Linked DNA regions of Homo sapiens: region 2 is linked to region 1. Evidence: promoter capture Hi-C in human tissues and cell types (Jung and others, 2019). All regions are on one chromosome and are shown on one strand. The core of a region is centred on a gene start or on the middle of the fragment in contact, and the rest is flanking DNA. Distances in the headings are between cores, read along the strand shown. Region 1 holds the start of PLEKHG4 (pleckstrin homology and RhoGEF domain containing G4). Region 2 overlaps LRRC36 (leucine rich repeat containing 36).

What was found. The method cuts DNA at HindIII sites, captures the fragments that hold promoters and counts their contacts. A contact is called where the count stands out against the background at its distance.
Region 2: a contact is called between a fragment that was not itself captured here and the fragment with the promoter of PLEKHG4 in region 1, in 2 of the 25 tissues and cell types used here (mesenchymal stem cells and spleen).

What each region holds. Positions count from the first base shown.
Region 1 is chr16:67,278,120-67,281,200 of GRCh38, reverse strand. PLEKHG4 (pleckstrin homology and RhoGEF domain containing G4) reads right to left here and starts at 1,669. Exons shown (of 22, transcript NM_001129729.3): 1 at 1,575-1,669; 2 at 658-1,325; 3 at 395-490; 4 at 196-319; 5 at 17-110. The coding sequence starts at 1,156. LOC124903701 (a long non-coding RNA gene) reads left to right here and starts at 1,790. Exons shown (of 3, transcript XR_007065092.1): 1 at 1,790-2,052. RefSeq lists silencers at 1,636-1,817, 1,537-1,966, 2,017-2,176. The HindIII fragment of the contact is 17,100 bases long and covers 1-3,081 here.
Region 2 is chr16:67,339,567-67,342,647 of GRCh38, reverse strand. LRRC36 (leucine rich repeat containing 36) reads right to left here. Exons shown (of 14, transcript NM_018296.6): 2 at 564-691. Among named protein-coding and RNA genes, the nearest start is that of LRRC36, 14 kb to the right of the region's middle. The HindIII fragment of the contact is 3,387 bases long and covers 1-3,081 here.

The sequences.
Region 1 (3,081 bases), core at 420-2,919:
ACAATCCTGTACTCACTTGTAGTTGGCTGAGCCCAGAGAAGAGGGAAGAACTTGGAGCACAAATTCGGGCATCAACTAGCACTGTCAGTCCCAGTGCCTGTACTTCGGGCCTAAAGGGGTGAGCTTCAGTTCAGTACCTGACTCCCAGTCCTCACAGCTGGCTCAGGCTCAGTCTCCCAACCCCCTCCCTCAAACCTGGGGATGCTTCGCAGGTACAGCAGGAGGCGGATGAGTTCCTGGCTGCTGCACTCAGACTGAAGCCAGGCTGGGCTGTGGGCACACAGAAGCAGCACTGCCCGGCCTTGGACATCCCGAGTCCCTGTGGGGAGGAAGCAGTGAACTCCTGCCGTATTGGGCCACTCCACCTCCACCGCCTCTAGGCCCGCCTGGCTACCTGGCAAGGTGGCCATACCACTGGCCAGCAGCTCCCAACAGAGGTCTTGGGCCAGGAGGCAGTCAGCAGGCTTAGGGAGGCCGGATCCACTGGGGGCTTGGGAAGGGAAATGACTTGGGTCTGCCTTGGACCACCTATCCAGAGACCCCTACTTGGACCCGGGCTTCAGCCTGAGTAGGGTCAGAGACCTCCAAAGTCTTGACACTCATCTCTCCAGGCATCCCCATTCCCTTCCCAGACTTCCCTAGCCCAGCCTTCCTTACCTGCCTCCAGCAGCTTTGATATTTCTGATAAAGGGTCTCCAAGGCCCACAGGGTCGCTGTCCAATGCCCCAGGGCTCAAGCCAGATGGCATCGCCCTGCTTGGACCTGGGTCCCCTACCAACCCTACCCCTGGGGTGTCACTCTCACCCTGTGCCAAGCTGAGGTGGGAGGACATGGGGCATAGGAGACTCTCCACTCCAGAGGGGCCTGGCCCTTCTGACAGGACTGAGGAGCTTTCTACTGTGCCCCTCTGGGCATCCCCCGACTCATCTGCAGCTGGGGGTAACTGGAATTTCCTGGACAAGGGGCTGCCCTGTAGCTCCTCATCCTGGGTGGCCCCGGCTGGTGGTCTTGGAGGACCTGGGTCCTTAACGTGCATCTGGGAAGCAGGTTCCTCCTCTTCCCAGGCATCCCTGAAACTGCACACAGCAAATCTCCAGTCGGTGGCATGGCCCTGAGAGTCTGGGGACTCATCCCCATTCTCCAGGGGCCTTTCCATCACGCCCTCCTAAAGGTGGGCCTGCTCGGGGCCAGCGGGAGAGGGCTGGGTCTCAGTGTGAACCGCGCTGAAGACAGTCGAGTGGGACTCAGTGGGCAATGCAGGCGAAGGGCATGGGCCGCAGGAGGTGCCAGTCTTAGTGCCAGGGCACAGGAACTGCAATTCAGGCCTGGGAAGAGGGAATAACGTTAAGGGTGTCCCTCTGTCCAGGTCCCCCGTCGGACGCCCGTGGGCCTCTGCTCCGTGCGCGCCCACCCTCAGCGTCCTCACGGCCACGCTCTGCAGGCCCATGCCCGTGGGGGCGGCCCCGCCATGGCACCACGATGCCTCGGGTTCGCTCTCCTGCCGGCCCCCCCAGGCCCTGGCCTTGTTGCAGGGCCTACCGCGCGCCCCCCCGTCGCCCGCTGGCGACACTCACGCCCCCGGGCCGAGCCGCGGGGAACCGTGAAGTCGGACAGCCTTCGAACAGACGGCGGCCTCGACGGCCACTACAGCGCGGCCGCGCGGCGTCACGGGACACCGCCTCCTGGCCGCTGGGAAGGGAGGGCAGTGCCGCCGGGGCGCCGCGCAGCGCCGCGCCGCCCCCTGGAGGCCGGAGGACGGAGCCACAGCCCGAGCAGGTCTCGACGGGGCACAGCCCTGCCGGCGCGGAAGACAAGGTGCGGGCCCTGCAGCAACCCCCGCCCGCCGCCGTCCTCTCCGTGGGCCCGGACAGCCCGCCAGCCCCGCCCCGCCGCACCCCCGGGCCCCGCAGACCGCGCGCCTCACCCGCGGCGTCGCAGTGCGTGGGTTGGGGCAGCGACCAACGGTCGGCAGCTCCACCGTGCCCACTCCCCGGGCCTGGCGAGGACGCCGGAAGCGCTCTCCCGCCAGGAAGGCCGCGTGGGTGAGCGAGGGTGAGTGCGCGGGGGGCACCGCGGGACGGGGCGGGGCGGGGTCTCCCAGGGGCTTCCGCGGCTGAATGAGCCGACGGGAGGGGAAGGCCTTCTGTGTAGGGAAGCGGGGTGCTGCCTCGCCGCGGGCACCCAGAGACAGGTCGCATGATCCCACGTGGGATGGGGCTGCCATCCGGGTGGGAGTGAGACCAATGGGTGGAGCTGACCCAGGCCTGCCAGAGTCCACCAGATCCTCTACCCCTTTGCCATCCCTGGCACCCCCTTACCCCCTTCTCCACAAAGTCCGGTGCAGGAGGCTGGTGCTGAGGTGGGGTTCTGGAGCCAGAGCCCCCAGCCCAGGCCTGGCTTCTCCACTTACCTGCTGGGGGCGCTCCAGGAACTCTGCTCTTTGAGCCTCACCCTCCTCACCTGTAAAAATGGAAAGTCATTTTTCTCCTGGGGTTGCCGTGAGGACTGGGGAAGACTCCCTGTGTTATACGTTCACCCGCTGCCAGCACTCGGGCTGTGTTGGTGCCCTGCCCCCTCATTTCACCCGCAGTCAGGGAATCCTGAACTGATGAAAGCTACCCAAGTGGGTAGCTGTGCGATTTGAGGTCCCTTTAGGGCATGTGGGCCTGGCCCGACACTCCCCAGAATTTGTGGGAAGATTGTGGGAAGGTCAGCTCTGCGACCAGGAGAAGACCCTGAGCCCCACAGTGTGCCCAGGCCCATGGTCCCTGGGGAGAGGGGGCACCGGGTGCAACGGCTTCCCTGGCTCTAAGGCAGGCACCTCTTTCATGAACCTGGGGATTACAACAGGCACAGTGGGACCAACAGCAATCTCCCCACCCAGCCCAGCCCAGCCCCCAGAGTCCAGACTTTCAGGCAGCTACCGAGGAGCCTTCTTCATGAGCAGGTCTGGCTGCCAGAGGGGAGCCTTGGAGTTGTCCTGCTCCATCCCTAACTCCCAGCCAGACCTCTCTTCCCACCCTCCTGGCTTCAGGAAGCATCATCCAACCTTGGCTTCCTCCCCAGTTCTGTCCCAGGGCC
Region 2 (3,081 bases), core at 364-2,863, 62 kb before region 1:
TTGCTAATCCACACGCACACTGTTCATGCTTGGTCCCTCCTGCCTTCCTATACTGCCCTCTGCTCCATCATCCCCTGACTTAAATTTTCCCAAGACCACACCTTCCTTCTCCTCATAGAAAAAACTCACAATAACAACACAGGCCAGTGTTTCTCCATGTATGCTCCATGTACCACCATCATCAGAATCCCCTGAGTATGTCCTGAGCCTACCCTAGACCTACTAAATCAGACCAACTCTCACAGTAGGGACTGAGAATCTGTACTTCTACAAGTGTTCTTCATAATTTTTTATACACACTAAAATTTATGCATTTGCCCTAGACAGTGATATCTTAATATAGTTTTCCGAGAGTATAAAATAAATTGCCCTCCCAATATTTTATAACAATTTAAAATATACTGCAAAGTTGAAAGAATTTTATAAGAAATAATTAAATTTAGTTGGGAATCATTTAAAGGGAAGGTCTTATATTCCCCAGGATGACATGATCTATCTCTTATTTCTTCCCATCAAAAAAATAAATTGGGCAGACCTGGCTGGTCATAGAATATATAACTTACCTTAAGGCTAGTGATCAAATTCCTTGATAAATCTAAGGATCGGAGATTTTTAAAATTTCTGAAGGCATCACCAATGGAATGGATTTTGCCAGCATAAGATCCCTGCAATGAAAGAGACTCCACCAGTTCTGAAAAGAGATCATCAGTAGATATATTATGATCCCTGCTCGGATCAACAGCAGAGTCAGTGAAAGTAGGCCTTTCTTCCTCCCATATCTCAACTGTGCAAGGCCCTACATCCAAGCCTCATAAGATCAGATCTTCTTTTTAAAAGCAGCAGTATGGTCTAATATAGTGACATTGAACCTTAGTTTTATAGAGCCCTTGAGTTTTTCTAATTTCCCTGAAGGATGTACTAAAAGTCTCCAAAAGTTCTCAAAACAAAATTTCAAAAGATATTCAGCAACCCCACTGCTAGGATTTAGCCCTATGGATAATAACCACAAAATTTTGGCAGGTTATATAAAATATAGCACAAGGATGTCAATTTCAGAGCGGTTTTAAGATAGTAAAAAAAATTAAAAAGAAAGAAATAGAAAACTGTCAAAGGTCCATCAGCAGAAAAATAGAGCCAGACAGCCTAAATAATAGTACATTGATACGAAAGACAATATACTACATCTGCGACCTTGTTCAAGTCACTTAACCTCTTTGTGCATCAGTTTCCTCATCTGTAAAATGGGGGTAACAATGGTACTCAATTCATAAGGTGTTACAAGAATTAAATTAATGCATATGTACAAAACATATATATAGACTATATATAGTCTATAGTCTATAGTCTATAGACTGTCTATAGACTATAGATAGGCTATAGTATATATAGAATATATATAATTATATATAATTATATATATTAAATTATATATTAAATGACATATATTAAATCTATATATAGAATATGTAGAGTACATATTCTATAGAATATGTAGAGTACATATTCTATAGAATATGTAGAGTACATATTCTATAGAATATGTAGAGTACATATTCTATAGAATATGTAGAGTACATATTCTATAGAATATGTAGAGTACATATTCTATAGAATATGTAGAGTACATATTCTATAGAATACATATTCTATATATAATATACATATTCTATATTCTATAGAATATATGTAGTACATATTCTATATTCTATAGAGTATATGTAGTACATATTCTATATTCTATAGAGTATATGTAGTATATATTCTATAGAGTATATGTAGTATATATTCTATAGAGTATATGTGGTATATATTCTATAGAGTATATGTGGTATATATTCTATAGAGTATATGTGGTATATATTCTATAGAGTATATGTGGTATATATTCTATAGAGTATATGTGGTATATATTCTATAGAGTATATATATAGAATATACATATATGAGAAGAAGTAGATAAAAGTCAACTAGACTTTTTTTTCTATTTTTTTTGAGATGGAGTCTTGCTCTTTCGCCCAAGCTGGAGTGCAGTGGTGTGATCTCAGCTCACTGCAACCTCCACCTCCCAAGTTCAAGAGATTCTCCTGCCTCAGCCTCCCAAGTAGCTGGGAACACAGGTGTGCACCACCACACCCGGCTAATTTTTTGTATTTTAGGTAGAAACGGGGTTTTGCCAAGCTGCTCTTGAACTCCTGACCTCAGGTGATCCACCAGTCTCAGCCTCAGCCTCCCAAAGTGCTGGGATTACAGGCATGAGCCACTGAGCCTGGGCATCAACTAGACTATTAACAGTCCTGAAAAGGGGAGAATCTCAAAATTGTCAGTAAGAACTCACTGGCAAGGGTGGTAGGCCAAACTGCGAATAGCAACCAAAACTGGAAGAGAGTTCTACAGAATCCAGTTTGCAGATAAGTGCCAGGAGACTGCATTGAAATAAGATCTTAAGTTGCTAGAGCAGTCTGGGTCCCATAAACTTTATTTTATTTTATTATTTATTTATTTATTGAGATGGAATCTCACTCTTGTCACCCAGGCTGGAGTGCAATGGTGCGATCTTGGCTCACTGCAACCTCCATCTCCTGGGTTCAAGTGATTCTCCTGCCTCAGCCTCCCAAGTAGGTGGGATTAAGGTGTGTGCCACTATGCCTGGCTAATTTTTGTACTTTCAGTAGAGACGGGGTTTCACCATGTTACCCAGGCTGGTCTCAAACTCCTGACCTCAGGTGATCCACCTGACTTGGCCTCCCAAAGTGGTGGGATTACAGGCGTCAGCCACCGTGCCTGGCCCCCATAAGCTTTAAATAGTCATAAACCAAAGATCCCTTTCAGGACAAGACCCATACCACGGAGAAATTAGTGGGAGTAGAATCTACACTGAATGGAACAGGGACATAGATGCAAAGGAAATAAAAGGTCCAGATATGAATAGGGGAGGGAAGCAGAATGGACGGATCTCAGGAAGCATGTCATGTTTTACACTACTCTGTGAACACAACAGAAGAGGGAGCTCCAAAACCTTGAAACTAAAAAAGCTATTCTGGCCCACCTTTCCCACCTAAGTGTAAGAAAACTTAACTGCAC